Regions from separate parts of the Homo sapiens genome. Here all the other regions are linked to region 4. The links are contacts of gene promoters, found by promoter capture Hi-C in blood cells and fetal thymus (Javierre and others, 2016). All regions are on one chromosome and are shown on one strand. The core of a region is centred on a gene start or on the middle of the fragment in contact, and the rest is flanking DNA. Distances in the headings are between cores, read along the strand shown. Region 1 holds the start of PRELID3A (PRELI domain containing 3A). Region 2 overlaps CEP192 (centrosomal protein 192). Region 3 has its middle 14 kb from the start of AFG3L2. Region 4 holds the start of CEP76 (centrosomal protein 76). Region 5 overlaps CEP192 (centrosomal protein 192). Region 6 overlaps CEP192 (centrosomal protein 192). Region 7 overlaps AFG3L2 (AFG3 like matrix AAA peptidase subunit 2).

Evidence for each region. The method cuts DNA at HindIII sites, captures the fragments that hold promoters and counts their contacts. A CHiCAGO score of 5 or more calls a contact.
Region 1: the fragment with the promoter of PRELID3A here is called in contact with the fragment with the promoter of CEP76 in region 4 in 4 of 17 cell types (endothelial precursors, M0 macrophages, M1 macrophages and 1 more); the score reaches 7.5 in endothelial precursors.
Region 2: a contact is called between a fragment that was not itself captured here and the fragment with the promoter of CEP76 in region 4, in 2 of 17 cell types (erythroblasts and M1 macrophages). The highest score is 5.7, in erythroblasts.
Region 3: a contact is called between a fragment that was not itself captured here and the fragment with the promoter of CEP76 in region 4, in 16 of 17 cell types (endothelial precursors, M1 macrophages, M0 macrophages and 13 more). The highest score is 18.4, in endothelial precursors.
Region 5: a contact is called between a fragment that was not itself captured here and the fragment with the promoter of CEP76 in region 4, in 3 of 17 cell types (non-activated CD4 T cells, total CD8 T cells and monocytes). The highest score is 6.2, in non-activated CD4 T cells.
Region 6: a contact is called between a fragment that was not itself captured here and the fragment with the promoter of CEP76 in region 4, in 2 of 17 cell types (total CD8 T cells and M1 macrophages). The highest score is 5.4, in total CD8 T cells.
Region 7: a fragment that was not itself captured here is called in contact with the fragment with the promoter of CEP76 in region 4 in 1 of 17 cell types (M1 macrophages); the score reaches 5.1 in M1 macrophages.

The regions. Positions count from the first base shown.
Region 1 is chr18:12,406,348-12,409,726 of GRCh38, reverse strand. It overlaps PRELID3A (PRELI domain containing 3A), which reads right to left and starts at 1,798. Exons shown (of 7, transcript NM_001142405.2): 1 at 1,720-1,798. The coding sequence starts at 1,751. RefSeq lists enhancers at 971-1,220, 1,078-1,737, 1,738-2,399 and a silencer at 1,421-2,000. The HindIII fragment of the contact is 9,540 bases long and covers 1-3,379 here.
Region 2 is chr18:13,052,103-13,055,719 of GRCh38, reverse strand. CEP192 (centrosomal protein 192) reads right to left here. Exons shown (of 45, transcript NM_032142.4): 18 at 2,630-2,801. Among named protein-coding and RNA genes, the nearest start is that of CEP192, 63 kb to the right of the region's middle. The HindIII fragment of the contact is 2,400 bases long and covers 967-3,366 here.
Region 3 is chr18:12,389,278-12,392,464 of GRCh38, reverse strand. No RefSeq gene overlaps it. Among named protein-coding and RNA genes, the nearest start is that of AFG3L2, 14 kb to the right of the region's middle. The HindIII fragment of the contact is 739 bases long and covers 1,150-1,888 here.
Region 4 is chr18:12,701,154-12,704,474 of GRCh38, reverse strand. CEP76 (centrosomal protein 76) reads left to right here and starts at 1,752. Exons shown (of 12, transcript NM_024899.4): 1 at 1,752-1,989. The coding sequence starts at 1,927. It overlaps PSMG2 (proteasome assembly chaperone 2), which reads right to left and starts at 1,433. Exons shown (of 7, transcript NM_020232.5): 1 at 1,311-1,433. The coding sequence starts at 1,367. RefSeq lists enhancers at 2,065-2,114, 2,125-2,424, 1,710-2,607. The HindIII fragment of the contact is 2,487 bases long and covers 747-3,233 here.
Region 5 is chr18:12,996,472-12,999,901 of GRCh38, reverse strand. CEP192 (centrosomal protein 192) reads right to left here. Exons shown (of 45, transcript NM_032142.4): 2 at 314-481. The coding sequence starts at 477. Among named protein-coding and RNA genes, the nearest start is that of CEP192, 6.8 kb to the right of the region's middle. The HindIII fragment of the contact is 2,917 bases long and covers 439-3,355 here.
Region 6 is chr18:13,032,285-13,035,738 of GRCh38, reverse strand. The region is part of intron 11 of CEP192 (centrosomal protein 192); the gene reads right to left. Among named protein-coding and RNA genes, the nearest start is that of CEP192, 43 kb to the right of the region's middle. The HindIII fragment of the contact is 5,250 bases long and covers 1-3,454 here.
Region 7 is chr18:12,341,893-12,345,376 of GRCh38, reverse strand. It overlaps AFG3L2 (AFG3 like matrix AAA peptidase subunit 2), which reads left to right. Exons shown (of 17, transcript NM_006796.3): 14 at 1,130-1,245. It overlaps LOC107985154 (a long non-coding RNA gene), which reads right to left. Exons shown (of 2, transcript XR_002958227.2): 2 at 1,054-1,328. Among named protein-coding and RNA genes, the nearest start is that of AFG3L2, 34 kb to the left of the region's middle. The HindIII fragment of the contact is 9,965 bases long and covers 1-3,484 here.

The DNA.
Region 1 (3,379 bases), core at 549-3,048, 290 kb after region 4:
GGGCAGACCTCGGCCATTCCATGAGAAAACTGAGCCCCAACCACCTGGCACTCCTGGTATGCAATGACTTAACTGTCCACAGCATCCAGACGGCTCAGTGATGCCCCCATCCTTGTTGCTGATGGAAACCCACTTGAGAAACACTGCAAGCCATACAAAAAATTAGATCCCATCAAGTCTAAAGACTTCATGAAAAATAATTTCAGAGGTTTTGAAACCACTTGATATATTTTTATTATAATTTTACATGTTTAAAGTCAGGCCAGTCACGGTGGCTCACACCTATAATCCCAGCACTTTGGGAGGCCGAGGCGGGTGGATCACCTGAGGTCAGGAGCTCGAGACCAGCCTGGCCAACATGGCGAAACCCTGTTTCTACTAAAAATACAAAAATTAGCCGGGCGTGATGGCCCACACCTGTAGTCCCAGCTACTCAGGAGGCTGAGGCACGAGAATCACTTGAACCCAGGAGGGGGAGGTTACAGTGAGCCAAGATCGCGCCATTGCACTCCAACCTGGGTGACCCAGCGAGCCTATGTCTCAAAAAAAAAAAAAAAAAAAAAAAAACCCAGCCTGGGTGACAGAATGAGACTCTGTCTCGAAAAAAATAAATAAAAAGAGTCAAAGGATGACAATTTCCTTCCACGCAGTACTTTTTTTCCCCCCAAAATAAAATATTTAATGCTTAAGTGAGGTCAGATAATTAAAAAATCTTTGTTGCTGTAAATAAACATTAAAGAATAATTTCAGTGTGTCACAGATCACTGACTTAAGGAAAAGATACCACTTAGGTTAGGAGGGCACTTTTTTCTTCTTTTTATTTGCACAATTCTATGGAGTATATGTGCAATTTCGTTACATGCATAAATTTCGTAGTGGTCAAGTCAGGACTTCTAGGGTATGCATTACCCGGGAAGGTGTCTTGCACCCATTAAGCAATTCTCATTATCCTCCCTGCACCCACCCCCTCACCCTTCAGAGTCTCCATCATCTGACGTTCCACTCTCCACATCCATGTGAACACATTCTTAAGCACCCACTTAGGAGTGGGAACATGCGATACTTGTCTTTCTGGGCCTGGCTTCACTTAAGATAATGACCTCCACTTCCATCCGTGTGCCGGGGGAGCATTTTTAAACAGTTCGAGGTTTTCCACGCTAGCTTGGAGGCCTTCCATGCCTACAAGTGAGTTCAGAGCCAGGGCCCCCGAAATGCCTTCTGCCCCTTTAGCTTCCTCCAGAGCTCACAGCCCGCCGTGGGCCCTCCGTGAAACGCGCGGAAGGTTTATGACAATCTCAGCAAAGGCGCCAGCTTGCAGGCCTCTCCCCTGCCCTGCTCCCGACCCCAAGGAGAGCAGCGAGCGCCAGGCCCCCGGCCGCCCCCCCGGCTCCGGCCGCCCCCGCCCCGGCCGCCCCCGCTCCGGCTGCCCCCGCCCTGGCTGTCGACCACCAGCGGGGCCTCTGTGCCTGCAGCCAGGCCCCTGCGCACGCCGGGGGAGAGGCCGTACCCGGCGCAGAGCCTCGCCCAGACCGCGGTCCCGGGGAAGCGCGCGTGCCCTCTCCGGGACGCCGAAGTTGCGGTCTGGGAACGGCCGGCGCGGGGCGGGGATCTCCGCGAGGCCCGCTGTGAGGTCCGGCCTTTCCTGGACCGCTCCAGCCGGGCTCGGGAGCAGGAGCCGGCGTCTGGACGGCCCCACCGCGGCCCTCAGCCCGGCCTCACCCAAACACGTGCTCCGAGCTCCAGATCTTCATTGCCGCCGGCGCAGGGCGCGGGCTCTGCGATCCGGGCCGGGTGCTTCGGGCCGCGCGGCTCCGGGCGCGGCGTGGGCGGGGCCTCGATGGGCGGGGCGCCCTTGGATGCCGCCCACCCCGTCTGGTGGCTAGGCTGGCTGCAGCGGCTAAAAATAGCTCTGCGGGCGCGGCTGTGGCGCAGCCCCAGACCTGCGCTGCTACCCTGGGGTGCGCGATGCGCGCTTGCTGCAGATGCCGCGGGCGTAGGAGGCGACGCTCGTCCTTACTCCCACTGTCCAAATTCTCCCAAGGCCCTGTCCAGCTACGCCGGTTTGTACTGTCGGGGACGTGTGATGAAAAACAAACCTGCCAACCCTCAAAACTCCACTGCAGTTTGGGTCTTGAACAAACATTAAACCAGCATGTGAGGCCGGGCGCGGTGGCTCACGCCTGTAATCCCAGCACTTTGGGAGGCCGAGGCGGGCGGATCACGAGGTCAGGAGATCAAGACCATCCTGGCTAACACGGTGAAACCCCGTCTCTACTAAAAATACAAAAAATTAGCCGGGCGTGGTGGCGGGCGCCTGTAGTACCAGCTGCTCGGGAGGCTGAGGCAGGAGAATGGCGTGAACCCGGGAGGCGGAGCTTGCAGTGAGCCGAGATCCCGCCACTGCACTCCAGCCTGGGCAACAGAGCGAGACTCCGTCTCAAACAAAACAAAACAAAACAAAACAAAACAAAACAAAACCAGCATGTGATGTGCATCACAAGCAATCCGCCAAATAGGCTGCAAAGACAGAAATCTCAGCCTGTATCAAACAGCCGGGAGGATGCAACCTACCCCACGCATGCTCCCGAGGTAAACGAGACAGCCCTCCGGGGAGGGGACTCCACTACACCATTTGTCGCAGAGTTCATCCTAAATTCGCCTGATGATGGAGTGGCCATTGGTAAATGCAGTGGCCATTTGCGTTTGCTAATTGCCTTTATCCAAAGGAAAAATGAATTTTCATACCTTTATGACAGGAGGTAGGTTTACAATTTGAAGCCAGGTGCTCTCTGGTAGCTGGGCTCCTACCCTCCCACAAAACTGGGAGACGGGGATGACATTTCAAAGAGATGACTCCCAAGTCCTTGAGAAAATACATTCTTGAGTTATAAAACTGGGGGGAAATCTTATTTAGCTTTAAAAAAATGTACGTGTATCTCAAAAAGAATTTGTGATTACAACTTGGCAAATCCTCTAAGGAAAAAGAGTCTCCCTTTCGCATAAACTACTTTTTAGCTTTGCAAAGTACCCTGCACTGCCACAAACGAAGTTGAAGTGCACGGAAGTGAGATGCTTGTTCTAAGAAGAGGGTACTCTTCTCCAGGATGAGATAGGGCGAGAGGGCAGGGCCCTTGTCTGAGTCGGCTGAGTCTCAGCCTAGAGCAGCGCCTGGCGCCCCTGGGGCGTCCGTGGGCGTGGGGAGCGCATTTGTGCAGTGAGGCAGGGAAGTGGAAGAGCACACAGCATGACCCGAAAGACCTGGGCTACAGTCCTGGCTCCACCGTCCACTCACATTGACCTCTACCTCCTACAGCGTTAAGCTCAGGATGATCTTCCAAAGTTGGTGCTATTCTTCCCGTTTTACAAATGAGTTAACTGA
Region 2 (3,617 bases), core at 917-3,416, 350 kb before region 4:
ACATGCTGGCAAAAGCTCAAGTAACAAAGAGATGTGCATGAGGTGTCTCTTTGAAAAAAAATTGGTTTACACAAAAATAGTAGTCTTGCAGTTGTGAAATGCAGACTTAAATTAGAAAATTTGTGCTTGTTGTTTTGTAAAAAGAATTATACCATGAGGAAAATAAATAGGAGGTATACACTAAGAATATCTGAAAATTTTGCACAGATAAACGACCAGAGTCTAGTAACTTTTTGAAGATTTAAGGGATTTCTGTAAACTTTACAAAAAAATCCAAATAAATTAGTAACGAAGGAGTGGGGGCTGAGCAAGCTTGAAACGGTAACAACTTTGAGGTCAGGCGGCGGCTCAGCAGGCTGGCAGGGCCCCACCCCACCATCTGTCCATGCTACTGCCTGGGCTTGAAGATTCAAAGACGTTAACTTTTTTTTTTTTTTTTTGAGACAGAGTCTCGCTCTTGTTGCCCAGGTTGGAGTGCAATGGCGCAATCTCGGCTCACTGCAACCTTCGCCTCCCTGGTTCAAGCCATTTTCCTGCCTCAGCCTCCCAAGTAGCTGGGATTACAGGCACCCGCTATCATGCCCAGCTAATTTTTTGTATTTTTAGTAGAGACAGGGTTTCACCATGTTGGCCAGGCTGGTCTTAAACTCCTGACCTCAGGTGATCCGCCTGCCTCAGCCTCCCAAAGTGCTGGGATTACAGGTATGAGCCACCACACCCGGCCAAAGATGTTAACTTTTATGTGTTCTAAGCCCTCTCCCATTTCTAAACTTGTGTGGCTCTATGAAGCATGAAGTTAACAGTCCTGGTAAATGTCCACACTCATTTGTTTGTACATAATGCATAATCTGAGGAGTGACATCTGCAGCTCTGCAGGATGGACCAGCTGAAATTTACAGACTAGATAGACGTAACCTTCACTGATTGCTTTGGTACTTGGTTTATAAATTTCTCCTGGCCAAAGCTTCAGAAATAAAGACACTAAGAAACAAAGACTATATTATTTGCCAATTAATAATAACAAATAATATGTATCCAGTGGTGACTTACTAGGTGACAAGCACTGCCCTCACATACTATTCCTCCTTACAGATGAAGAAACAGGTTGAGGGAGGTTTAGTAATCTGTCTGAGGAGGCAGCAGAAGATAAGTTATCTGACACCATAACCCAGCTCTCAACCACTATGCTAAGAACATGCAGACTCAGTATCTAACAACAACATGAAAAAGACAGCTTTCAAAGAAAGGGGTGTAATGCTCTCACACTACGCTGTGTATTCAGTAACTCTTCAGTGGCTTGGTGGAGGAAGACTATGCAGCATCCCCACAGCAGTCACAGTTAGCTCATCAAAAAACTGCACACTGTCACATCCACAACGTCCACACACGAAAATAGCTAATACTAGCTTCTCCCACATAAATCTCTCTGATCTTCTATTCTATTCCCACTGCTACTGTCTTGGCCCAAGCGTGCACTGTCTCTTGCCTGAACCACTACAGTGGCCTCATGTCAAATCTCCTATTTTAATTTTGCTCCTACTGTTCCCTCCTTCCTCATTGCTGTTGGAGTGAGCTTTTAAAACATCAAACCAGCCTGGGCTTGGTGGCTCATGCCTGTAATCCCACCACTTTGGGAGGCCAAGGCAGGAAGATCGCTTGAGGCCAGGAGTTCAAGACCAGCTCTGGCAACATAGCAAGACCCCATCTCTAAAAAAATTTGTTTTAATTAGCCAGATGTGGTGGTAGGCACCTGTAGTCCCAGCTACTTGAGAGGCCGAGGCAGAAGGAACACCTGAGCCCAGGAGTACAAGACCAGCCTGAGCAACATGGCAAGAAGCTGTTTCTACAAAAAAAAATGAAAAATTAGCCAGGTGTGGTAGTGCACACCTGTAGTCCCAGCTACTTGGGAGGCTGAGGCAGGAGGATCCCTTGAGACCAGCGGTCCCAGGCTGTAGTGAGCTGTGATCGTGCCACCATACTCCAGCCTGGGTGACAGAGCGAGATCGTCTCTAAAAAATACAAAAACAAAACAAAATCAAAACAGATCATGACAGTGACCTGCTAAAAAGCCTTCAAACTCCCGTATTTTAAACCCAGCACCCTTCCCGGTTTGGTCCCCCCTCTTCTAGCCTCATACACTTCTCCCTATTGACATGATTCACTGTGGCCGTTCTAAACTTCCTGGAGTGCCCAGATGCAGTTTGTATCTTACAACTCTCCACCTCCCCATGTGTTAACTCTGCTTCCCCGCTGCCTAACTCCTAGCAGTCCTGCACGGTGTGGCTTCAGTGTATTTATCCCTGCAGAAACCTTTGCTGAAGCAAAGGCAGTCAGACTTCCAACCACCACCTTCTGAGTCCCCATAGTATGCGCGCAGCATGATGCACTTCATTACACAGCGTGCCTCACCAGACAGAGCTCTTCAAGGGCAGATCCTAAAATGTTTGTACCTCTGTGTCTACCAGCATGAGTAGGTATTTAATATGTGCACACAAATACAAAAATCATTTTAAAGATAAAAGAGCAACACTGAAGTTATATAGGCTTGAACTGTAGTCTGAATCAAACATCTGTTAACACTTTTAAGAGTTGAAAGCCTTAGTAATAAATAATCCAAGTGGCTGCCCACCTTGCGGTCCTCCAGGGCATCATCTGTGGCTGTGGTAGGATAGGAGCTCTCTGGTTCAGACACATACGTCAGCCTGCTCACCCCAGCAGGCGAGCACACCAAGGGAGACAACTCCTGCTCACAGGGAGGCTGCTGCTGCTGAGCTGCTGAACCAAAGGACTCTAACGCACACCTGAAAGAGAAGAGTAGCTCACACCTGGAGTTCTCCAGTCCTTCAACTATCTACATTAGCAAAAAACCATTCCTATGGGCCTACAATCTTGCAAATGACTCAACCACAAATTCAATGTTTACACTTAATTATCTAAAATTGTAAAGAATATTCCCATTGAATGAAGCATCTGTTAAACTAGTGTAAAATGTATTGTGGCATTTTCATTAATAAATACCATATAAAGACACACAGCAATTCATTATTAGCAATTAGCTATTCATGCTATAAAAATCTGCTAAGTATCTGATATAGAGAAATGAACAGAAGATTCCAACCCTCAACGAGCAAAGAGGAAAAAAAATCATGCAGATAAGTGCAAAGAAATGGGAACAGTCACACACCACTGTGGGACTATCAAGTGGTACAACTTTTGGTTGAGCAATTAAGCAGTACATATCAAAGGCCTCTTGACTCAGATATTCTACATTTAGGAATTTATCCTGAGAAAAAAAATTAATGATAAATATAAAGACTTCACAAAAAGGACATGTCCACATCACTGTGGACAAAAAGTAGGAAAGCTTAAATCAGACAGGAGGAACTGAGCTACAGAAATTAGAGCACAAACATGCAATACAACACTATGCAGCCATTCAAAAGCATGCTGTTCTAGCCTTGGTTCAGAAAGATGTCCCTGCTACACAACGTAAAATGAAAAGATCAGGAAGTGACAAATAGTGAGTCTCACATCTATCTGCACAAACACCAGGGTTACTTCCTCATTATTCTGTTCATTAAGCACCTTTCACAGGGCTGCCAGCCGAGATGCAAGGA
Region 3 (3,187 bases), core at 270-2,769, 310 kb after region 4:
GCTTCTCACTAGGTTCCTAACAAACCATTTCCTTCTCAGCTTTCAAATGCCTTCTCACATAATGCCTTCTGGGATTGCGGTACTGTACTCAAAAGATGGCTTATGACAAGGAGTTTGGTGTACCAAAGCAATCATCACATTTTTTTACAAGAAGACACAATTGGGAAAAATCTAGAAACTTTATGATTTGAGTATACCATTGTGGTCAACTCTTTTAGAAAAATATTTGATCACTACCTAGTAAAAGGGTGATAAAGAATCTTCTAAATGTTCTGCAGTTGTCATTCATGAAACGTGCATTGGTAGCACCCTGGCATCAGTGACATCATTCATGGTTTTACTCATTATCATCTGGAAAATAGCAACTGGGCATTGTGTCTTTTCTATTCCTTTACCTGAGGCCCATTGCCAGGAACAGTAGCACAAACCAAGACCACCACTGGAAAAGATTATGTCAGCTTCACTTTATAGAAAACACAGCATTAGGTTGTTCGTGGAGATGAACTATGAACAATAGAAAAATTATTTTTTGAAAAATCCAGACCAGCCTTGTGAACACATCTGAAGGTTTTCTGGAAATGCACGGCGTTGTCTAGAGATGTATAGGGCTCTCCTGACGCCTAGTGGGGAACCGTATGCAGCACAACTCTGGGTAGCGAGCCCAAGCCCTAGCCACAAAACACAAATTATTTTCTAAAAACTAATGTTTACCAGGCAATCTCTCTACTAGGAAACCATCCTCTGAATGGAAGCTGGCACATGTGTATATATGCATGTACCAATAAGAATAATTGGCTGGGTGCGTGGGCTCATGCCTGTAATCCCAGCACTTTAGGAGGCCAAGATGGGAGGATCACTTGAAGCCAGGAGTTCAAGACCAGCCTCAGCAGTATAGTGAAACTCCAACGTTACAAAAAATTTAAAAATTAGCCAGCTGTGGTGGCGCAGGCCTGTAGTCACAGCTATTTGGAAAGTTGAGGCTTGAGCCTGGGCATTCAAGGCTACAGTGAGCTATGATCGTGCCACTGCACTCCAGTCTGGGTGACAGAGCAAGACCCTGTCTCAAAAAAAAAAGCTCACGGTGGCTTCTGAAATAAAAAGAAATGAGAATTAGTCTAAATGACGCTTGGTGAGAAAACTATTAAAGCTTTACAAGAGAATACAATAGAGTTTATTAATGCCTTGGGGGAACTATATGTTATTAACATACAAAAATATATGTTAAACAAAAGAAAAAATCAAGATGCATAAAGTACACGTTCGTTCATGTAAAAATAAGTTTTTTTTTTTTTGTTTGTTTGTTTTGAGACAGAGTCTTACTCTGTCACCTAGGCTGGAGTGCAGTGGCACCATCTCGGCTAACTGCAACCTCTGCTTCCCGGGTTGAAGTGGTTCTCAGGCCTCAGCTTCCCTTGTAGCTGGGACTACAAGCGCATGCTACCACACCCGGCTAATTTTCTATATTTTCAGTAGAGGCTGGGTTTTACCATGTTGGCCAGGCTGGTCTCAAACTCCTGGCCTCAAGCAATTCACCAGCCTTGGATTTCCAAAGTGCTGGGATTACAGGCATCAGCCACCACACCTGGCCTAAAAATTAGTTCTATATGCTTGCAAATACATATAAAATGTATGGACACACACACACAGAAAAAACTACCTAGAAATTTACCTTTAAAGGCCAGGCACCATGGCTCATGCCTATAATCACAGCACTTTGGGAGGCCAAGGCAGGTGGATCACCTGAGGTCAGGAGTTAGAGACCAGCCTGGTCAACATAGTGAAACACTAAAAATACAAAAATTAGCCGGGCATGGTGGCAGGTGCCTGTAATCCCAGCTACTCGGGAGGCCAAGGCAGGAGAATAGCTTGAAATCTGGGAGGCAAAGCTTGCAGTAAGCCGAGATCAGCCACTGCACTCCAGCCTGGGCGACAGAGTGAGACTGTGTCAAAAAAAAAAAAAAAAGTCCGGGCGCGGTGGCTCACGCCTGTAATCCCAGCACTTTGGGAGGCTGAGGTGCGTGGATCACGAGGTCAGGAGATCGAAACCATCCTGGCTAACACAGTGAAACCCCGTCTCTACTAAAAATACAAAAAAATTAGCCAGGCATGGTGGTGAGCACCTGTAATTCCAGCTACTTGGGAGGCCGAGGCAGGAGAATAGCTTGAAATCTGCGAGGCAAAGCTTGCAGTAAGCTGAGATCAGGCCACTGCACTCCAGCCTGGGCAACACAGTGAGACTCCGTCTCAAAAAAAAAAAAAAAAAGAAAGAAAGAAAGAAAGAAAGTTACCTTTAAGATGTGAACATGAGAAATGAAGATACTTTTACTTTTCATTTTGTAACTTTGTTTCTGTCCACACTGATGAAAAAAAAATTTATACTGAACTTTTTTTTTATTTTGAAAGACAGAGTCTTGTTCTGTCACCTAGGCTGGAGTGCAATGGTGTGATCATAGGTCACTGCAGCCTTGAATTCTGGGCTCAGGCAATCCTCCTGCCTCAGCCTCCTGAGTAGCTTGAACTACAGGCCTGTACCAGCACACTGAGCTAATTTTTAATTTTTAATTTTTTTTTTTGAGATGGAGTCTCGCTCTGTCACCCAGGCTGGAGTGCAGTGGTGCGATCTCGGCTCACTGCAAGCTCCGCCTCCCGAGTTCATGCCATTCTCCTGCCTCAGCCTCCAGAGTGGCTGGGACTACAGGCACCCGCCACCACGCCCGGCTAATTTTTTGTATTTTTAGTAGAGACAGGGTTTCACTGTGTCAGCCAGGATGGTCTCAATCTCCTGACCTCGTGATCCACCCGCCTTGGCCTCTCAAAGTGCTGGGATTACAGGCGTGAGCCACCGCGCCTGGCCATGCGTGGCTAATTTTTGTATTTTTAGTAGAGGCCGGATTTCATCATCTTGGCCAGGCTGGTCTTGAACTCCTGACCTTGTGATCCACCCGGCCTCAGCCTCCCAAAGTGTTGGGATTACAGGCATGGGCCACCGTGCCTGGCGGTTTTTTTTTTTTTTCTTTTTTTTAGACAGAATCTCACTGTGTCTCCCAGGCTGGAGTGCAGTAGCTTGATCTTGGCTTACTGCAAACCACCCCCTCCCGGGTTCAAGTGATTCTCCTGCCTCAGCCTCCAGAGTAGTTGGGATTACAGGTGCGTGCCACCATGCCTGGCTAATTTTTGTATTTTTAGT
Region 4 (3,321 bases), core at 503-3,002:
TGAGATACAGGTGCAGGAAACCACACCTGGCTAATTTTTATTTATTTTTTTGTAGAGATGAGGTATCACTATGTCGCCCAGGCTGGTCTTGAACTCCTGAGCTCAAGCGATCCTCCTGTACTCGGCCTTCTAAAGTGCTGGGATTACAGGCATGAGCCATCATGCCTGTCTCTGAATTAATGACTGAATATATATTATACAACCCAAATCTTTAACTTGTTTTCTATCATTCATTCAACCCACTCCAATATGGCTTTCCTCTTCACCACTTCACTGGTAACTGTTTGTCCAGGTGACCATCATTAACATGTCGCTAAATCCAAACATACACTTTCTTCACCTTACACATCTCTGGGCTACTTTTGACATGGCCACTCCCTCCTTTTTGAAACACTCTTCTCTGGGGCTGTGTGTTTTATATGTAATGAATAAGGATGACACTTCCAGCTCTCTCCAGCCTTATACCACTCCAAACAGTGCATTTTCCAATGGTGCCTTCTGGGTTCACAGGGCCTACAGCCTATTCTCTCTCAATGTGTCATTCCAAATTCTTGGCAGTCTTCAAGTCCCCCTGCTTACTGACTCTGTTTTAGACATCCATCTTTCTGAAACGCCTACTTTCCCCTACTCCCAGCCCACGGGCCCTCCATCTTTTGCATACTACTTTCTCTATAAAGCCTTTCTTAACAAGCCATCTGTCCCTCCCCTCCCAATTATCTCAGGACCTTTCTATACCCTTTCAAGCTTCTAGCCTAGCATTTATTGCTCTTAGATTACATGTTTCCAACTACAGTGTAAATTCTTTGAGGGCACGCACCTAGTCTTATTCTAATACTCGCACATAACAGACTTTATTAAAACAATGAATGAATATAAAGAGCGATAAAACTGCGCTAACTACCGGCAAGAGTTAATGTTTATTGCCCTATCAGTAGTTCTCCGGTTAACAACGATAATATGCTAGCTTAAGACTAATTCTAAAACTAGTCGTAGAAAGACTTTCTAGGATAAAACTGAAGGATGCCCTGCAAAACATAAGTACAGTGTATCTAGAACGTACGAACACATCACGTTTTACAGGAAACAGAGACTACAAATTGTAGACTTGACTACGTTTGGTTTTACAGCCGACAAAGGTTCTGTTTGGACGGCTGCCTCCGGCTACAACCTCCCTGTTTTTTCCGGCCGAAAACATGAAATAGAAACTAGTGCCCTATTTCTCCCAAGGCACCGCCAAACACCCCGCGTCGGGGTGGCGACACCGCAGGGGCCTCGGGAGGCGGCAGCCCCGAGCGCAAATGGAGACTCACCATTAGGAGGGTGAAGCCGGCAAGGTCGGGGGCCGACTCCCCGCAGGGAACGAACATGGTCGCAGTGGGGTGGCCAGCAGGGACTAACCGCGGCCCTGGCAAGAACGAGGGCAGCAAGAAGGCGGAAGCCCGAGACCCCGGAGCCTCGCGGGGCGCGGGAGGGTCCTTTGAGTCCCTGGGCGCCGGGCCCTTGAGGCCCGTCCAGCTAACTGCCGGTTCAGAGGGCGGAAAGAGGCCGCCGGGTGGCCGCGAAGAGGGGCCAGCAGCGCTTTCGGAGACCCTGGCAAGCAAGGCGATGGGGTGCGCTGAGGTCTCGGGGTGCGGGGCCCGCGGGGAGGTGGAGCGGCGGGCGGAAACGATCAGGCAGCGTGCGGGCCAGCCCCAAGCCCTGTTTGTCCGCCACTGTTTGAAAACAGTTGGCGCCGCCGCCGCCGGGGCCTCATTTCCAGGTCAGCCCCCGGCCTGACGCGGCGTTGCGTCCCCCGGGAGCTGCGCTAGGCGAACGGCTGCGGCGCTTTGTGCTCCAGTCGCTCCTAACGCTCCCTGGCCCGGCCGGGGCCGCGCAGTTAGGGCATCTGAGGCGGGGAGAAGCGGCGGGGAGACGCCGGCTGCCAGCATGTCGCTGCCTCCGGAGAAAGCCTCCGAGCTGAAGCAGCTCATCCACCAGCAGCTGAGCAAGGTGAGAGTCGCGGGTGCTGGGAGAGACCGCCGGGCCGACCCATAACCTTTCCCTCCTGCCCGGCGGCCCCGGGCCGACAGCGGCATCTGCTTGCCGGGACTGTAGCGAGGATTGTGGGGTGCGCAACGCAGAGTAGGCAGAGCTTTGAGTTTGAGGCAGGAGAGCGTCCTCGTCTCCGAGAAAGAAAACGAGCCGAGCAGGTGCTAGCAAGAGTCTGGGGCGATAGAACGAGCGGTCTTGGCGTTTTAGGACGGCCGTGAGAATGAAGCGCTTAGCGAGCGACTTCTGGAAGTCGGATCGAGTGTAAGTTGTATTTGGAGGTTTATATTCTGCTGTAAGATATCAGGTTTTTTTTCTTTCTTGAGACGGAGTCTCTCTGTTGCCCAGGCTGGAGTGCAGTGGCACGATCTCGGCTCACTGCAACCTCCGCCTCCCAGGTTTAAGCGATTCTCCGCCTCAGCCTCCCGAGTAGCTGGGATTACAGGCGCGCGCCACCACGCTCGGCTAATTTTTGTATTTTTAGTAGAGACGGTTTCACCATGTTGGTGTGGCTGGTCCCGAACTCCTGACTTCGTGATCCGGCCGCCTCGGCCTCCTAAAGTGCTGGGATTACAGGCGTGAGCCTCCGCGCCCGGCAGATATCAGGGTTTCTTTACCGCTGAAACATGTGGGTATCAGCGAAGTTGAACCAGGAGCTTCAATCAGCAATTCTCAAATAAGTCATGGAAGAGAAGTTACTAAAGGGTTTGTAATGACGGAATTTGTTAATATTTCGGAGCTCCAGAAGAACCTCCAGTTTCTGCAGCGCTCGCTCGACTGAGTGCAAGATGCTGAAGTGATAAAAGCGACCATTTATGGTGCCCTTGTGTGCCAGGCTTTGTGCTGTCTAGTATCTTTAATCCTCACAACACTATCGTGAGAGGGCACTACACTAGGTTTTTCCATTCTTATCGGTGACGAAACAGATTTATAAAGGGTAAATAAGTTGGCTTGAGGTTACACATCTACTAAGTTGAAAGCTGGTAAGATTCCCTTATCATTAGGCAGATCAAAGTATGAAAGTAATAAGATCATACTTTGATCTGCCTACTCCCAGTCCGTGTTCTTCTGATTATACTATACTCCCTCTCAGAAGATTCCTTTTGGTTGAGTGTTGTTTGTGGAGAAATGGTAACAAAGGTGCCAGATAACCAGTGGAGACTATTTCTAGAATTTGTACTCAAAAGATTCATTCTTTAAAAGCTTACCTTTGTTCCCATTCAATTGTGGTAACAATTGTGCATTTACTGTTAGCTGGAGAACCTTAAAACTTCAGAAGCAGTATTTGACTGC
Region 5 (3,430 bases), core at 648-3,147, 300 kb before region 4:
TACATTACTAGCCATTAGTGTGACTGAACTAATACAAATCCAAAACACTATAGACAAAAAAAAAAAAAAAAAATAGACCGAAATAGGTAACTGGTGCTCAAATCCCAAACCCACCCAAACCTACCCACTGAAAAGGCAAAGCAATGGGGAAAAAGACAGTAAATTCTGTCTTTTCTATATTCATTTCACATATTTGGCCATCCCCCTCATAGATAAAACAAAAAGCTCAAGCTTGACTGAGAAACAGAACATAAATATCAGCATGCTATAGGCTTTATGGACCTGGAAAAAAATCTGCTCAAACAAATCTTACCTGTTATCAGTGCTGGATCTATCCCTAGCAAGTGTAGAAACAGCAACAGGCAAGCCAAGATTTGAAGAAAGAGTGACATTTTCCAAAATCCCACTGTTACCAAATAATGAATTGGTGAGAAAGCTTGGAAATGATTCTTCTGCTATACCTCGAAAATCTTCCATCTCACTGCAATAACAAAAGTATTTCTATAGGTCACATATTACTATAAAATGTTTTTAAATGATTAAAAGCATTGTCTTAGAAAACTAATAAATCTTAGGAAAAAAATCCTTTTTTTAGCATTAGTAAGGGGGAAATAGGCAAATAGTCTGAGGTAAAATAAATCTCAGAATACTTTGCTACTTTATAGATGAGAATAGAAACCTTAAACATTAAACTTACCTTCTTATAATTAACATAATAATGCAATACAACACATTTTAATTTGCCCTTTGCTTGGTGTAGCTAGGAAAATGAATTACTACAAACTTATCTAGTAAAGAAAGCAAAGATGGCATAACACTGATGGTATATACAAATGATTTTAGGACATATTTAAAAGTTTGGTAGTTACATACTCATTCTAATACGGAACAGAAAAAGTACAACCAGCAAAAATCTAGCCCGGATCTCAGTGTTGTTAAGACTGAATTAAAAAGTGAACCCATTCAAAGAACAATTTTCAGTTAAAGTATAGTTGGCACATGGACAAGGTAAAAGTGGTAAAAGGGGTACCCAAATGACTAAATCTGGAAAACACCAGCACAAAACCTATGCTATTACTAGAGAACCTGACCACGGTGCTCTGAAGATGTTAGCTAGTCTCAACAATTTTTCAGAGTACGTATCATATACACACTGCATGGAAATCAGTAAAGGAAATAATGGCAGAAGGATAAAAAGATAAATAATCAGGAAAAGCTAAAAAAAATGAGAGGATATTGGCAATGCGCCTTGAAGACTGAGAAGAACTTTTATAGGCAGAGTATGGGATGAGAGAGTTTATTTAGGATGATAAACATGAGCCAAGAAGGAAAAGAATTAAATTTTATTGCATATCTACTAACTTAGCTCACTGAATCCACAGAAAATCTTACAATGTAGGTATTATCCCATTTTACAGGTGAAGAAACAAACTGAGAGACTAAATTAGCTCAATTTTCCCAAGGTTGCAATTAGTAAGATTCAAACCCAGGTCTGACTCGAAAATCCACTCTAAGTGCTAGGTCTATGCTGGCAGTAGCAAATACTCCAATGCATTTTGGCAGCAGGTGAACAAAATAACACAGTAAACGAAGCTAGAATAACAGAATGGAGCCAGATTCTAAAAGTCTGAAACGGTGTGTTGGAAAGTTTGAACTGTACTCTGCAACCAACAAAGAACTGACACAATCAACCTATTATACAGGAAGGGAGAGGACTTAAAAACCTGGAAGACTATTCAAAGAGCTACTTCAGTAATAAAGGAGTATACTAGGATCAATGACAAATTGGATTAAAGCATAGATTTTAGACAGTATGGACTAATTATAAAATATAAAAAGAAAAAGAAGAAGTTTTATGACCACTAAAGAGATTATGAGGCCAGGTGCGATGGCTCATGTCTGTAATCCCAGCATTTTGGGAGGCTGAGGCAGGCGAATCACTTGAGTTCAGGAGTTCAAGACCAGCCTGGCCAACGTGGTAAAACCTCGTCTCTACTAAAAATACAAAAACTAGCTGGGCGTCATGGCGGGCACCTGTAATCCCAGCTATTTGGGAGGCTAAGGCAGGAGAATCACCTAAATCTGCGAGGTGGAGGTTGCAGTGAGCCGAGATTGCGCCCCTGTACTTCAGCCTGGGTGATGGAGCGAGACTCTATCCCCCCCAAAAATAAGAAGAACTTACTTGTTTTGGAATAGGAGTTAAAAGAAATTAAAGAATGTGTAAGCAGAAACTCAGTTCTATGTAAGAAAACCCAATTCCCCCTGAGAAAGAGAAAGAGCTGGAGCCCTTTAAAAATTATCTGCCTGTTTTTCTGTGGCTAGTAAGCCTTATCTCTCCTCCTTTCCCAGGCATTGTGAAGACCCTGTTTCTCTAGCTGTGCAGCTGCAAGGTCACTAGACAGATAAACTCAAGCCATAAAACACATTTTTTCCTTGGAAAGTAAGAAATGATATAATGCATGTCTCAATTAATTGAATAATTGTCTTTGTTTCTTGCTTCTGTAATATGCTTCCTCCTGCACAGATTCCCCCCTGCCGCCCCACGAAATCCTTAAAAGGTAACTTAACTCTTTGTTCAGGGCTCAGACTTGTTCAGGGCTCAGACTTTTTGGATGTTAATCCGACTGGGCCGGTGCACCTAAATAATATATCCTCCTCAACCCCTCGGTCTGATTCCTAAATTATCCCACAACAGTTTATGAAGTGTCCATGCCCCTGTCTGAAGCCCACCTCTTCACTTTGCACTCGATCCCAACCCCTCACTGCACTGACAACCACTCTACCAATCGGCCCCCTTCCATAACATGATCGAGTCTTCTGTCTGTGCAAGCCCTCCCACGCTGGGCATGCTGTTATTTCTCCCACCTTTTAAAAAAAGCCTTCCTCTACCTCACACCCCCATTATCCCCCTGAACTGCCACCACACCTATCCATGCTCCCTTTATCACAGGCTTCCAGAGGAATCATGACTGGCATCCAGTTCCACTCCCATCCTCTCCTGAACGCACCCCACTCTGGCCTTCATCCCACCACACCACCAAAAAAATGCTTGTCAGCATCAGCCCTGATCTCCCTGTTGCCAAGCCGTAGCATACTATAATCTACCTCCGGTCCTTCTTCTGTAGCCTAACATTCAGGTGATTACTCCTTCCTTGGGGAAATACTTTCTTGGCTTCATTTCTCAGACACAGCTGTCTGGTTCTCCTCCAACTCCACCAAGCTGCTGCTTTCCCTTCTCCTTGGCCAGTTCCTCCTTATCTCCTAGACCTCCACAGAGTGGAAGCCTCCAGGGCTTGATCTTCAACTTCTTCCATCAACTCACCCTCTCTGGGTGATTGCCTTCAATTTCAAAGCTTAAAATATCACGTAAAATGTACACCTCCATCTTGGGCCTTTCCCCGAACCTCAGGTATTCAACCGCCTCCACAAC
Region 6 (3,454 bases), core at 253-2,752, 330 kb before region 4:
GAATCTATGACTCAAGCTAAGTTAAAAACCACTGCCCTAAAAGATGAAAGGAGCAACCAACCAAATCTGACAGCCAAGAGAAGGGAAGTAGGAAACTCGGCCCAAAAGAGGGTAATATGGTTTGGCTGTGTCTCCACCCAAATCTCAACTTGAATTGTTATCTCCCAGAATTCTCAAATGTTGTGGGAGGGACCCAGGGGGAGATAACTGAAACATGGAGGCCGGTCTTTCCCATGCTATTCTCATGATAGTGAATAAGTCTCACGAGATCTGATGGGTTTATCAGAGGTTTCCACTTTTGCTTCTTCCTCATTTTTTCTCTTGCTGCCGCCATGTAAGAGGTGCCTTTTGCCTCCCACCATGATTCTGAGGCTTCCCTAGCCACGTGGAACTGTAAGTCCAAGCAAACCTCTTTTTGTTCCCAGTTTCGGGTATGTCTTTATCAGCAGCATAAAAACAAACTAATACAGAAGGTAACCCAAAAGAAACTTAATTTACTTTGAGGAGTTAAATATCACCTGGTTTTTAAATAATTGACCGAACAGCTCAAAATAGGATTTATTATATTCCTAAATGCTTTTTCTCTGAACTATAAGGGATTCATCAAAGAAACATCTATATTAACACTGTTATCTTGTCTACTCATCAGAAATCAATCACAGCCAATAAGAAAGCAGAACTTCACTTTTTATGAGAATCTATGCCAATTCTTTGGCATACCTAAAACAACAATCCTCTTGTACTGAATGCTTCCGAGGCCAAACGTGGAAGCAGCCCATTTGTGTTTCCCCCACTGTCGAACTCTCAGGTCATAAGCGGCAGCAATGCAGCACCTTGAATAGATGGAGCTGAGCTGTCGGCAAGGAGGAAGGCAGGCATGGGGAAGAAGAGGAGGCAGGCTTTTTTTTTTTTTTTTTTATGAGACAGAGTTTTGCTCTGTCGCCTAGTCTGGAGGGCAGTGGTGCAATCTCGGCTCACTGCAAGCTCTGCCTTCTGGGTTCACGCCATTCTCCTGCCTCAGCCCCCTCCTGAGTAGCTGGGACTACAGGTGCCCACCACCACACCCAGCTAATTTTTTGTATTTTTTTTTTTTTTAGTAGAGACAGGGTTTCACCATGTTAGCCAGGATGGTCTCGATCTCCTGACCTGGTGATCCACCCACCTTGGCCTCCCAAAGTGCTGGGATTACAGGCGTAAGCCACTGCGCCCGGCCGAGGCAGGCTCTCTTAAGGAACTGTTCTGAATAAAGTTTATAAGTAGGCAAATTTTCATTTAAAATGACTTGGACGTTACAAGATTACACCCTTTTTTCCAACCTTCCTTTTCTGAATATCTCCTTTTATTACATTTTTAAAGTTCCTTTCTCCTTTTCAGTAAAAAGGCTCCCATTTCATTAATGCTACCTCCACCCCTATTTCCCTGGATCTAGTCCATCCTTCCCAGCACCCATCAGGTTTTCTGTCCACCAACCTTTTTAATAGCTTTCCATCTCCCCGTTTCCCTTTCCTCCCCACCCATGCTAGTCATCCTTTCCAACCAGACTAGTATTCATTCCCTAAGCACAAGGATGGTTTCATTCAATCTTTCCGTTATCATTTTTTATTTTTTAATAGTAATACATCTAATAATTCAAATTTAAAAGGTGTATTTATGACACCACAATAAAGAGCTTTTCAAAGTTAACCAAAGACTTACAAGGGTATATACTGAAAACTATCTCCCCATCCCTGACCCTAGTTTCCCACACCCCCAGAAGCAACCAACAGCTAAAATATTTCTGAAATGTCTATCTGAATTTTTGATTTCTGAGTTCAAGTAACTAGACATTCCTGTAGTCAGTATCTTGTTTTATCTTTCCATTGTATGTATTTACAAATATCTGTATGTACATCCTCCCCTCTCCTACCTTTCTACACAAATGTTAGAATACTTTATGTGCTTTGAGGTGGACTTTATCTTTAATTTATTCCAGTGATCATTCCATTTGAGTAACTAAAGAGCTCCTTTACCATTCTGTATAGCCACAGGGTACCTCCTTGTATGGATGCACCTTAATTTATACCCTATTTTGTCCATCTACATTGCTTCTAACGTTGTTATCACAGACAATGCTGCAAGTAATGAGCCTGCACATACACCATGTATCATTTATGCAAGTGTATCTGAAGAATAAATTCCCAGAAGCAGAACTGCTCGGTTACAGGATAGTACATGCGTAACTTTGCTAGATGCTGCAATGTCATTATAGGTAGACGCGGTGCCAAGAATGGACTAGCATACCTGTGTCCCTCACATCTTTGCTAAGACAGTTTTATCACCAAACTTTTGGATCACTACCAAGGAAATAACTGAAAAATACTATGACTGGGTGGATTTACACTGCATTTCTTTCCATGATTAAAAATGAACATTTTTTGTTGTACATTTAACGATCGTTTTTATTTCTTTTTCTATAAATTGTTTCCAATTTTGGGGTAGTTGGTCTTTTTCTTATTGTTTATTGGAACTGTTTATATATTAGGGGAATGGGCTTTAAACCTGTAATATGAATTGCAAATCTTTTATTCTCAGTTTGCTAATTTTTAAAAACTTTTTACGATAGAGAGGTGAAGTGTACAGCTCAAGGAATTTTCACAATCTGAACACATCTGCATAGCCAACAGCACAGATTAAGAAGCATAATACTGCCAGTACCCAAACCACCCGAGCCTGCTTCCCATGCTACCTGCCCATCCACATGTAGCCACTGCCCTGTGGCTGGCTCTGCAGGAGTGCATTGCCCAGCTGTATACAAATAGAACTATAGAGTGTGTGTTCTTAGTCAGCTTTACGTCATTCCACATGTTCCTGAGATTCATCCATGTTGTTGCATGTAACTTCACATCACTCATTCTCATTGCAACCTAATATTCCAGGGTATGAATAAACATAATCCATTCTATGGCTGAGGGAGGGGAGGGTGATTCTGCAGTGACTTGGAAACTTCCACTGCTAATGGGAATTTGAGAATTTGGGGCTGATACAACTAGTGCTGCTATAAACATTTTAGTATGTCTTTTGGTGAATACATACGCCCTATTCTGCTGCATATGTACTCAGGTGTACAATTATTAGGTCATTAAGTATGAAGTTCATAAAGTTCACCCTTACAAGACACTGCCAAACAGGTTTCCAAAATGGCTGTACCAATTTACACTCCCACCAGCAACACATGAGAATTCCATGATCTTTTAAGTGATAAATATCCACCATTCGGTCTGCATCATCATTTTTAGATCAAGATATCATTGAGCAAGTCCTAACCGCAACTCAGCTTCACACTTCTGACCCCTATTTCCACTAATGACTACTTCTGCCTCAAACCACAATCACCCAAAATCTACACTTTCTTCTGACTCCCCGCCTCAGGTAATGGTATCGCCATTGCCCCAAGTAACTCAGACCACAGACCCTC
Region 7 (3,484 bases), core at 269-2,768, 360 kb after region 4:
ATGATTTGTTTTAGTACAAATGGCGCAGTTAGTTTTTACAGCACAGAGGTATGGAGTGAGGGGCAGAGCCCACGTTGATCCAGGCCAGAGAAGAATCACGCTCAGACTAGAGTCCGGTCAGCACTGTGGTGGACGCAGGCTGCAGCACGGGTCTTGTGGGCCCTGTGTCGCTGGGGTTTGCCCTCTGGGTCTGCTCTGCCACTTCTGTGGCTTGCTCTGAGCCATAGGGCCGGCTGGTTAGGTGAGGGTGCGCCAGCATCAGCCTGGCTGGCTCCACCTAGGTAGCTCCGGGTGTTGAACTGGCTGCCTGCTTTCTCAGACTCTCTTCTGCCTTCCAGCAGAACAGACAGCAGGTAGTGTCTTATGGCAGCCATCTTCGCGTGCCCAGTATTTGATAATTCTGAATACCTAGACTATGCAATGAGGACCTTTCCAGAGTTTTGGTTTCTGTAATTTTGCGTGTTTTAAAATGACCTTAATGCTGAATTTTATTTTACATTTCTATTTGTTTCCCAAAACACAGGGTGTGTGGCTTAAAAGTGAGAGAGTTAGGGTGAAAGCAGGCCTGGGGATGGGGGAGTGAGTGCATTTTTGCTGTAGTTGTATTTTGAACCTGACCTTTTGCTTTTATTCTGACCTTGATTGGGAATTCTATTTAATTTTTTAAAAAAATTTTTAACTTAATTTAATTTTTTTTTTTTTTGAGACGGATTCTTACTCTGTAGCCCAGGCTGGAGTGCAGCGGCATGATCTCAGTTCACTGCAACCTCCGCCTCCTGGGTTCAAGTGATTCTCCTGCCCCAGCCTCCCTAGCAGCTGGGAGTACAGGCGCTCACCACGACGCCTGGCTAATTTTGTATTTTTAGTAGAGACGGGGTTTCACCATGTTGGCCAGGCTGGTCTCGAACTCCTCACCTCAAGTGATTGGACCACCTCAGCCTCCCAAAGTGCTGGGATTACAGGCATGAGCCACTGCGCCTGGCCTTGATTAGGAATTTTTGGATTGTGATAGGCAGCTCAGTCTCCAAACCCCATTTTAGGTAAGGCAATGTATAGCACTGTATAACTGTCTTTTAATGTCAGTGTCACTGTAACAATGGCTTGGGTTTTTTTGTTGTTATTTTGTTAGGCTTAGAGAAGAAAACGCAGGTTCTGCAGCCTGAGGAGAAGAAGACTGTGGCATACCACGAAGCAGGCCATGCGGTTGCCGGCTGGTATCTGGAGCACGCAGACCCGCTTTTAAAGGTGAAGCAGGGTAGCTGCACTAGGCAGCCAGTGCATGGGTGAGCAGATGCTCGCTGCAGTCACTCAAGAAGCAAGCTACACTCCTGCAAAGGAGAAAGAAACAAGGCTTTAGCCAAAACTTCTGGTAACTTCTGGTAACCATAGTTGCACAAACCGTCCCATAGATAAATATAAAATTTGGACAGAAAATTATTTAAAGGGACCACAGAGTGTCCAAAAGCAGGCGAGAGCTGGAGAGTTTGCTCCTATAAAGCAGCAGTTGCAGTGGGTTTGAACTGGGAGCCTGTGGCTTTCTTGCCAAAGGGTTTTTCATAATCTCCACACTACAGTGGTATGAGACATAGTCTTTATTATCCTGAGGTGGTAGAGGAGATAGTCCAGGACTTAAAGAATACTGGAAATTTAACAGGAAAATCCCAGAAGCAAGAAAACTACCAAGTGGTGAGGCCCGAATCTGAGCAGGAACTGCCCAAATCTCAGGCCGACAACTAAACTACACATGCACAGTGGCAATCCCAGAGAACCTGGCAAAAGGGTAAGCAGAGACCAAAGAGAAATCTACCCCTGAAAGACGGGGGAACCATGTGAGATTTTTAAGTTTTTTGCTTTTCAACTGAGGCATTTCCCGAACTGCTGCAGCACAGATGACAGAAAGCAGCTGCCTCCCTGCCTTGCGATGGGTATCAGGGCTGCTGGGAATTGAGGCGGGCCAGGGGTGTGGGGGTCCCCTGAAGCAAGGGAACCATAGAGAAGACAACATTAGAGTGTCCATAAAACATCCTAAGGAACCCACAGAGAACCCACTAGAACTAATAAGTAAAGTTAGCAAGGTTGAAGAATTCAAGGTCAGTATACAAAGACCAATTGTATTTCTGTGTATTAGCAATAAACAATTGGAAAATGAAATTTTAAAAATTCAATTTCATTAGCAATTTCAGTAGCATCTAAAAACTCGAAATATGGAGGAATAAATTTAAGAAAATATTTGTAGGACATGCACATTGATAACAAGCCCTAAATAAAAATAGAGGTGGACTTTGCTCATGGAGTGTTACATCAGTTCTCCCAAAACTAATTGATAATTTCAGTGCAATCTCTGGTAATTATAGCAGATTTTTTTTTTTTGTGGAAATTGAGAAGCTGAATCTAAAACCGATATGGAAATACAAATGAGTAAGAGTAGCCAAAACAGTAAGTTACTCATCCCAGTATTAAGACTGTGCAGCTACAGTGATGAGAGTGTAGTGCTGGTAAGAGGACTGGCACGCAGGCCAGTGGGGTGGAATGGAGCCCGGAAAGTGAACCACAAACTTTTGGTTCACAGAGGTACCAGGATAATTCAAGGGGGAGGAATTGTCTTATCTACAGGTGGTTCTGGCAACAGAGTATTCACAGGAAAAATGGTGAACGTTAACCCTTGCATCATATGCAAAAAATTATTTGAAACAGGTCATAAGAACTAAAACCATCAAACTTCTAGGAGAAAATACAGGGAAAAATCTCTGTGGCCTTGACCATGCAAAAATTTCTTGGGACACAAAAAGCATGAGCCACAAAAGAAAACGTTGATAGGTGGGATCTCATCAAAATTTCAAACTCTCTTTCTTTGAAAGACAGTTAAGAAAATAAAAAGGCAAGCCACGCCCTCCAAAAATACATGCAGTACATATACAGGACAAAGGACTTATTTCTAGAACCTGTAAAGAACTCTTAGAACTCAATAATAAGAAAACAACCCAGTAAAACAATGGGCGAAAGATTTAAACATGCATTTCCCAGAAGGTATATGAGTGGGCATTAAGCACACACAGGGTATCATTATTTATCAGGGACATGCAAATTCACCCATGAGCTACCTGAACATACTTGCTAGAATGGTTAAAATGAAGAAGAGACAGTCTTCATTGTTGATAAGGATATGGAGCAGTTGAAACGCTCACACGTTATTGATAGGAATGTAAAATGGGGCCGGGTACAGTGGCTCATGCCTGTAATCCCAGCACTTTGGGACGCCGAGGCAGGCGGATCACTTGAGGTTAGGAGTTTGAGACCAGCCTGGCTAACGTGGCGAAACCTGTCTCTACTAAAAATAGAAAAATTAGCCAGACATGATGGTGAACGCCTATAATCCCAGCTACTCAGGAGACTGAGGCAGGAGAATCACTGGAGATGGGGAGGATCACTTGAACCCAAGAGGCGGAGGCTACAGTAAGCAGCAGTCGTGCCACTGCACTCCAGC